Regions from separate parts of the Homo sapiens genome. Here all the other regions are linked to region 2. The links are contacts of gene promoters, found by promoter capture Hi-C in blood cells and fetal thymus (Javierre and others, 2016). All regions are on one chromosome and are shown on one strand. Each heading gives the region's core, a stretch centred on a gene start or on the middle of the fragment in contact. The rest is flanking DNA. Distances are from core to core; before and after follow the strand shown. Region 1 overlaps NALF2 (NALCN channel auxiliary factor 2). Region 2 holds the start of AWAT2 (acyl-CoA wax alcohol acyltransferase 2). Region 3 has its middle 75 kb from the start of NALF2.

Region 1 (2,999 bases), core at 191-2,690, 540 kb before region 2:
CTCTTTCTCCCACTTCCCTTCTCTCGTTACCATTCAGGGTAGACATGTACATGTGTGCATGCACACACAGACACACATTCATACAGACACACATCCCCCGGTCTTCTTCATGGCTACTTCCCATCCTTCCCGCAGGCTGGTGCCTGACTACTACAGTCACCATAGCAACGGGAACCTCCAGGAAGGATACACTGGTATCTCCTGAAGGTGGGGGTTGGGGGAGTTAGGTGGAGAAAGGGAGCCTAACAGCCTCCCACCCAATACCATGGTCTGGCAGGAAGAGTCTGCTGAACATGGTGAAGGTGGGAGTGAGGAAAGGGAAGACAGTGGGTGGAACCAAGATCAAAGGAGGGTCAAGAATCTCCCAACACATCGTAAGCATGCGAGGGTGCTTCTAAGCCATGCGGATGCATGTTGGTCCCCTCTGGATGTGTCAGTACCCTAAGGAAAGGGTATACTCACTTTTTTACATGTGGGTAGGGACATAGGCTGAACCTCAGACTCAGGGGCGGGAGTGTGCCTTAGAAAAACTCCTTTGGGGCAGTTATTCTGTGCCCCCACCCTCTGAGGCAGTTTACCTTCTGTGTGCCCATACAGACTGGGCATCAAACCTGCCCTCCCCAGCTCATTTCTCAGCCACATGTGGATTCCAGCTGCCAGTGTTAGCTGAAAGCCAGGGGTGGCCCCTGCTTCTGGGGATCTGGACAAATCTGGACCCCTACAAGCACCATTCTCCGATGCTGGCCTGGTAGGTCTCTGGGGAATGGGTATGTTTGCGTTTTGTGTGATTACAGGCACACAGACCAGAGTGTGTGCAAGAGGCCAGGGATGCTGGACCAGCCTTTTCTCCCTGGGCATAAAAGTGGGCTCAGTAACGCCTGAATTTTTGATACTGTTAGCCAGATAGGTGCTTAGAGGGGAGGGCAAGGGCACCAGGCGAGCTGCAGCTGGCTCTGGAGAGGGAAGGAGTTACTATGGAGTGACAGGGACTGCCAGGGCCAAAGCTCCTGCTCGAATGCATTCTGGAGAAAGGAGCTGGAACCTGAGCCACAAGTCTGTGCACCAGAAGATGAGGCCAACTGGCTGCAAAGACGAAAGGGCTAAGAAAGGGGAAGGAAAGAAGAAAATTGCGAGTCTTTGAGTGCCTAGGAGATGCCAGGGGCTTTATATATGTTCATGAACTCATTTAATCCTGGCAGTCATCCTAGCAGGCAGGCACTATCATGATTCCCATTTTACACATGAGACAACTGAGGCTCAGTGAGGTGAAATGACCTACCCAGGCCACATAGCAAAAGGACTGGCATACAAACCTAGGTCTGTCTGTTCTTTCTCCAGTGCACAGATGCATGAAGAAAATGCTAATAATCTCCTCCAACTGTCAGAGGTAGTGCCCAGCTGGCTACTGAGAGGCTGGGCTGAGAAGCTGGGCCGACTGGAAGGGAGGCCCAACAGAGCCTATTGGTAGCTTAGAGGTCCTCTGGAGTGGCCCAGATCCAAAACGAGGACCCACCAACATCCTCTTTGTTCAACGTCCCAGTCTCTTGTCCTTGGACCCAGTGACAATCACTGTTACCTTCCTGGAATAGCAACAAGAGAATGGGCACAGGGAAGGAACTGCAAAGGAGATGGGAGGACCTGGGCTCCTCTCGCCTGGAGGGAAGGTATCTCTGTTATATTCTCAGCCCCAATCTGCTGGAGGGATCAAGCAGAGCACGAGGGGAGAAGGTGCAGAACATTAACCTAAGTTAGTCCCTAAGCAGGCCTAATGCAGACCTGAGACCCTGGCCTCCACATCCACTACACCTCAACATGTGCAGTTTCTCCATATCCTTGCACATGCTGGTAGAGCTGGAAGGGAAAACGACTGCAGTAAGACTTTGTTGCCCCAGAGTCCGCTGAGGCCTGGCCTGGGCTTTGGATGCCCAGTTCCCATGCAAGGGTTTTGGTGAGCCCCTAAACTTGAACACCTAGGCTTTTCTTGGGGATTGAAGGAAGTGCCAGTCCACCAAGTTCTGCCAGAAGAGGGGCATTTGGTGGTGATGGGTGTTACCAATGTTCCCTGTCTTATTTGGTTTTAAGAAGATAGCATGGCTACCTGGCTGATCTGTGAAAGGTGAGCTTGTCTGTTTAGTGTTGAACTCATTAAAACTTCCAACTAAGTTAATCTCTTAGAATTATTATAGTCTCAGAATCTTATAATATCTTTTTTTCCAGTTAACCAAAAAGGCCTTTGAGAAATTTTGGAAAGTAGAAGTATAAAAGGAAAAAAGTCCCAGAGCACTTAGTCTTTTTTTTTTCCCGTGGTAAAATGTACATAACATAAAATATACCATTTCAACTATTTTTAAGTGTACAATTCAGTGGAATTAAGCACATTTGCAGTATTGTACAATTATCACCACTATCCATTTCTAAAACGTTTTCATCCTCCCAAACAGAAACTCTGTGCCCATTAAACAAGAACTCCCAGCCGGGCGCGGTGGCTCACACCTGTAATCCCAGCACTTTTGGAGGTCGAGCTGAGCAGATCACCTGAGGTCAGGAGTTCAAGACCAGCCTGGCCAACATGGCGAAACCCCAGCTCTACTAAAAATACAAAACTTAGCCGGGCATGGCGGTGCACACCTGTAATCCCAGCTACTCGGGGTGAGACAGGAGAATCACTTGAACCTGGGAGGTGGAGGTTGCCGTGAGCTGAGATCGCGTCACTGCACTCCAGCCTGGGTGACAGAGTAAGACTCTGTCTCAAAAAATTAAAAAAAAAAAAAACTCCCCATTCTTCCCTCCTTCCAGCCCCTGGTAAGCATTATTCTACTTTCTGTCTCTAGGAATTTGAGTAGGTACTTCATATAAGTGGAGTCATACACTATTTGTCCTTTTGTGTCCAGCTTATTTCATTTAGCATGAACATTTAGTGTTCAAGGTTCATCCATGTTGCAGTATACATCAGTACTTCATTCCTTTTTATGGCTGAGTAATAGTCCATTGTATATCTA
Region 2 (2,728 bases), core at 161-2,660:
CTTCACCTATTTCCTATTTGTCCTTCAAGAGTCAACTCAAATTCAAGAGAAAAATGGGCAGAGGTCATAAATGGGCAGTTAACAGAAAAAGAAATACTAATTGCTGATAAACATGAAAAGATGCTCAAACTCATCAGTAATTAAGGACGTTCAAAATGAGGCGACAGCTCATGGTTTCTTGCCTATCACTTCTGGGTGGAGGTAGTAAGGACTGTGAATGAGTTCTCCATTCACTTTCCCTCCCATGCTGTGGTAATCCCTCAAGCCCCATTTTGCAGCGACACAATTTGGTGGTGCCTCCGTCAGCCTGAATATCAATGTCCACAGTGAGCGGTGACTCCCACCAACCTATGTTGGACATTCAGCATGAACAAGAAATAAACATTTGCTGGGTTAAGCCACTGAGATTTCAGGGTGAATTTATCAGCACGGCATACCTAGACCATCCTGATTAATACACCCTGAATGCTCCCACTTTGCAAATGAGGAAAACAAGACTCAGAAAGGATAAATACCTTGCTAAGAATTACACAGATAGTAAGTAGTAGAACTGGAATTTGAAAACAGGTGAGGTGAGGTAAGGAATGCCCACCCTTCCTATTCACTGGCGTGCCTCTGTGCCAGCTCTGTGCACCAAGGCCTATCTGCATTCTTTATTCCTAGATAGCTTGCAAGGTCACTTAATTCATTTCCCTGACTCCAGCCAGTACTCACCTGAACCACTGGAAAGGCAAGAATGTTTTCCAGGACCCCTTCCCACAGTGATGATTTGTTTCAGCATTTAGAACACAGTGGCCAGCATAGAAATAACTTTCACAAAGTGTTTGTAGTGTAAGCGTTGGAAGACATGGATGGATAAATTGTCGAATTCCTCAGGATGAGGTTTCCAGAGCCTCGGTCTGCCACCTGACCCAACTATCTCTAATTGGTGGTTTGCTTGAGTCCCTGTGATTGCAGCCAAGCCCTTTTCCTTGGCTAGCCTCAGTGGAACTGCTCCTCATCTTCCCAAAGAATGCCCTCTACACCCCAATGTAGACCGAGAAGGGCTCACACCTGCAGCAAAGTCCATGTGCATAGACGTGCATATACACACCCCTGCATAGGCACACACCCATATGCACACACACATGCCCACAGGGACACTCACAGATCCCACAAATACCATGGCCAGGTGGGTCAGGCCAGAGGCTGGTGTTACCAACCTTCCTGGTTTTACTGGAACAACCCTAGTTTGACCATTGAACATCCTGCAACCCTAAAATCCTTCAGTCTCAGGCAAGCCAGGATGGTTGGTCACCCTACCAAAGGCTGAAGACTCACTGATAAGCAAGGCACTGAAGGACCACTGGAAAACAGCAAAGACATCCAGGGCAGTCTTGAGGTCCTTCTTAGAGGGCAAGAGCATTGTGCCCAGCGTCCCAGTGGCTCCAGGTAAGCACTGTTCAGCTGCCCAGCCCTGATTGCTCAGGAGTCTGTGATGTTTCCTCTCTTAATGTTTTCTTCCCCAGCCTCTGGCTAGCCTCCGCCCCTGTACCACCCCTCCACAGAATTACAGGACCATATAATGCCTCTGCTTATCCAGTTCCTTCCAGCTGCCCACTCACCTGTACTTTTACCCACTTGGGTATTGCCTGGACTGAGATTGTGACACTCCTTTGCGCACTTGGCTAGAGAAATGTGATGAAACCCTGGTGTGAAAGTTAGTGTGGGCGTGCAGCTGACAAGAGGCCTCCAGGGCCAGTCTGGATGGTGGAGAGTGATGGGCAGGAAGGAGCCCAGGGCTCAAATGGGACACAGGGCTTGCATTTCTGTTTCTGAGGCCCAACTGTCTATGGTCTCTCAGTGACAATGGGATTGGAGGGCAGAGGGAAGGAGGTCACAGGCAAGGCCTTAGAAATACCTTCAGCCTTTTAGTCAGTCTGGGAGAACTCATTACTCACATTGAAGAGACATCACATGTATGTCTGTGAGCTATCATAGGTACTGAATAAACCTATTATTGAATGAAGAAACAAATATTGGTGTATATTATTCTGTGTACATGAAATTTTAGAATAGGCAAAACCAATCTATAGTGAAACAAATCACAGCAGTGGTTACCTGTGCTTGGGGATTGACTAGGAAGGGGCATGATGGAAACCTTTAGGGGTAACAGTGACGTTCTCTGTCTTGATAGGACTGTGAGTTACACAGATCAAAACCTCATTACTCAGTGAGTATACACTTAAAATGTGTACGTTTCACTGCCTGTGGATTTTACCTCGAAAGTAAAAAAAAAAAGTTGAACTCTCATTAATTCTGAAGTGTTTAGGGGTGAAGAATACTAGGCTGGGCATGGTAGCTCACACCTGTAATCCCAGCACTTTGGGAGGCCAAGGCAGGAGGATCACTTGAGGCCAGGAATTAGAGATTACAGTGAGCTATGACCGTGCCACTGCACTCCAGCCTGGATGACAGAGTGAGACACTGTCTCTAAAAAAACAAAACAAAAAAGAGTGCTGATGTCTGCAATTTACTTTGAAATGCATGTAAAATATATTGATGGATGGATACAGGGATGTACTGATGGATAAATATGTAATAAATCAAACAAAGATTGATTTATTAAATCTAGTAAAATATATAAATATTTTATATTTTTAATATTTTAATATTTTTTATATTTTAATATATTTTTATATATTAATATTTATATATAATATATTAAATATATTTTTATATTTTAATA
Region 3 (3,053 bases), core at 187-2,686, 620 kb before region 2:
CAAAGGGCCTGTGGTAGAAACATGCTTGACTTGTTTGAGGAATAGGCAAGGAAGCTGGTATGGTTGGAAGGAGTAAGCAAGGGCGTCAGCAATAGCAAAAAGGGCAGAGAGTGATGGAGAGGGGCAGATTTGGTAGTGTCCTAATGGCCACCGAGAAAGTATTCATTTTCAGAGAAATAGGGAGCCATAGGAAGGTTTTGAGGAAAGGAGGGACATGATTTGGCTTATTGGGCTGCTCTGTGAGGCGATGCTGCAGAGGTGAACAGAGGCCCTCCAACTATCCGAAATTTCTGGACCAACTCCAAATAGCCCTGTGCTTCACAAAGCCTGATATCTAGATATGTACGGATACATCAGCCAGAGGGATTTTTTTTTACTAACTTAAATTAGATTACAGCATCCTCTGTTTAACACCTTCCAGTGGCTTCCCATCACGTATTGGCTTCTCCAGTATCCTTGCCTGCAAGATCAGTGTCTGGCTTTGTCCTCATCACCTCCCACTCTCCCCTTTTCTCCCTCCCACATTGAGCTGCCTTCTTGGTTGCCCTCCCCCTACCCACTTGCCTGGCTCATTCCCACCTCAAGTCATGTGCACTTGTTCCATCTGCTGGGACACTCTTCTCTGAGCTCTTCTGATGGCTTGCTCTTTCTTATCATTCAGATCCCAGCCATTATGTCACCTCCACAAAGAGATCTTCCCTGATCACTCTCTATAAAGCAGCCGTAGAAGCCCTCCCTTTCATAACACCCTGATTTCTTCCTTCTCAGCACTTATCTTTCCATGTAATTGTCTTGACTATTTACTTATTGTCTAAGTTCATCCCTAGAATGTGAGTTCCAGAGGATAGAGACTTTATTTTGTTCATTACTATATCCCCAAAAACCTAGGACAGTGTTGGCACATAGTAGGCAGTTAATAAATGCTTGCTGAATAGATGACTGAAAGAAAATCAAGCCTTTCCCTCTCGATTTCTCTAGCACTGCTGAGACAGTCAAGATTTTTCAAAAGAAAATGTACAAGAAAAGGAGGCTAAAAGTAAAATAAAGAAAACGCAAAAAGTATAGCAGAGCTTTACAATAAAGCATTGGTTATTTATGAAAGAATTAGTGAGACTACATCTACATAAAACCCACAGCTAACATCATACAATGGTGAAAAACTGAAAGCTTCCTGCTAAGACCAAGAACAAGATGCAGATATCCACTTTTGCCAGTTCTATTCAACATTGTACTGGAATTTCTAGCCAGGGCAATTAAGCAAGAAAAGAGAATAAAAGACATCCAGATTGGAAAGGAAGATGTAAAGCTAACTTTATTTGCAGATGGCATGATCTTGTATATAGAAAATCCTAAAGAAGCCACTAAAAACTATCAGAACTAATAGATGAGTTCAGTAAGTTTGCAAGGAGCTTCCAGGGAAACAAGGGCTGGTAGGTAGGGTTTCCTGCCCCTCCCAGAGCTGCTGGGAGTTCACACTTCTTCAGGTACCATTTCTGTGGAATGAAACAGTCCAGACACACAAAGACTCTTTTTGCCTTTCTGCAAGCTCTTCCCCCGCCCCATGGCTATCGCCCCTTTGTGAAAAGGTTGAAGGATTATAGTCTCATATCCTGTGTGCCCTGTGAGCTGTGCTAGCCAAGACAATCTTCAACCAGAGTGTAGTTATCTCAGGATAAGGAATCGGGAGTGTGTAATGCATCCTCTCCTAAGCTTTTGTATTTTCTCTCTCCCTCTCTCCCTCTCTCCCTCCCTTTCTCTGGTTTTGTTTTTCACTTGGCTTCCTAGCAAATTTCCTTTTGATAAATTCTAATATTGTTTCATCTGAACTGAAGGGAATAGGATTTGTCTACATCTCAGTCGCTGCAGGGCTAGCTTGGAGGTCAGAGGTCCCTTGAGGCTAGGTGTGGGGGTGGCTGTAGCCAGCACAGCTGGAGATGCAGGGAAGGGTTGAAGCTGTGCAAATTTGTGTTTTGGACAATGGCTTAAGATACTGGAGGGATAGACTTTTGGCTAGGGATCGAGTGCATCTCAGTAAGGAAGAATGTGGTTGCCTGGAGACTTGCCGATCTGATCAAGATGACTTTAACTGGAAAAGGTGGTGGAAGGGGGGAGCAAAACATGCCCATATCAGACTGTAAGACCAGATACTATAGACAGCAACAGACATATCAGCGACAGAAGAATAATAGTGAAAGAGACACCCAGTGATTTGCAGGAGAAAATGACTGAGAAGGAAATCGGGCATGGCGCTTCCAGCCTTGACTGTCAATATACCAGTGTGAAGAGTAAGAGCTGAAAACAAAGCAAAATGAGATTTTTCAATACGAAGAAGTAAAAAAAAATCAAAGATATCATTAAGACTTAGATGAAAGGGATTCACAACTGAAAAATATACTAACTGGCACTTTTAAAGGATAGAAGGATATGGAAGCACTAATTTTGTGGCATCCAGAGGGGCAGGTTAAGAACAGAGAATCGGGAGAGAATACTAGGGAAAATAAACAGGACTCCAAGAATTGTGGAAAATAATCGTTTGCTCACTCATTTTGTGCCCTGCAGTCCGGATAGAGCAGTGAACAAGTTGGTCAAGGTTCCTGCTCTCATGAAGCTGATACTAAGGGGAGCTAGATAATAGACACATGAACAAGTAAATTAACAAAATAAAATCAGATAGTGAAAAGGCTCACAGAAAAATAAAACTGACAGACAATGAAAGGGAGGGAGGAATTACTATAATTTGGGTGGTCCTGGATGGCCTATGTGCAGAGGTGGCTTTTGAGCTAGTAACAAAGTGAGGGAGTGAACCGTGTGAACATCTAAGGGAAGAGCATACAAGCAAAGGAAACAGCAAAGGCAAAGGACTTGACCTCTTGGAAGAAATGAAAGAAGGCAATTATCTCAGTTTGGTTCTCTCAGATGCAGACACAGAGACAAGGATCTGAGTGCAGCTAGTTTATTGGGTGGGGTGGGAATACCAGTAGAGCAGTGGGAAAGTCAGAAAGGGAAGCAAATGCAGTCAGTAAAGGGTATGTTAATAAACCAGCTGCACAGTG

What was found. The method cuts DNA at HindIII sites, captures the fragments that hold promoters and counts their contacts. A CHiCAGO score of 5 or more calls a contact.
Region 1: a fragment that was not itself captured here is called in contact with the fragment with the promoter of AWAT2 in region 2 in 1 of 17 cell types (M1 macrophages); the score reaches 6.3 in M1 macrophages.
Region 3: a fragment that was not itself captured here is called in contact with the fragment with the promoter of AWAT2 in region 2 in 1 of 17 cell types (M1 macrophages); the score reaches 5.3 in M1 macrophages.

Annotation. Positions count from the first base shown.
Region 1 is chrX:69,511,440-69,514,438 of GRCh38, forward strand. The region is part of intron 1 of NALF2 (NALCN channel auxiliary factor 2); the gene reads left to right. Among named protein-coding and RNA genes, the nearest start is that of NALF2, 8.6 kb to the left of the region's middle. The HindIII fragment of the contact is 5,338 bases long and covers 1-2,999 here.
Region 2 is chrX:70,048,528-70,051,255 of GRCh38, forward strand. It overlaps AWAT2 (acyl-CoA wax alcohol acyltransferase 2), which reads right to left and starts at 1,411. Exons shown (of 8, transcript NM_001002254.1): 1 at 1,321-1,411. The coding sequence starts at 1,405. The HindIII fragment of the contact is 8,371 bases long and covers 1-2,728 here.
Region 3 is chrX:69,427,895-69,430,947 of GRCh38, forward strand. No RefSeq gene overlaps it. Among named protein-coding and RNA genes, the nearest start is that of NALF2, 75 kb to the right of the region's middle. The HindIII fragment of the contact is 543 bases long and covers 1,166-1,708 here.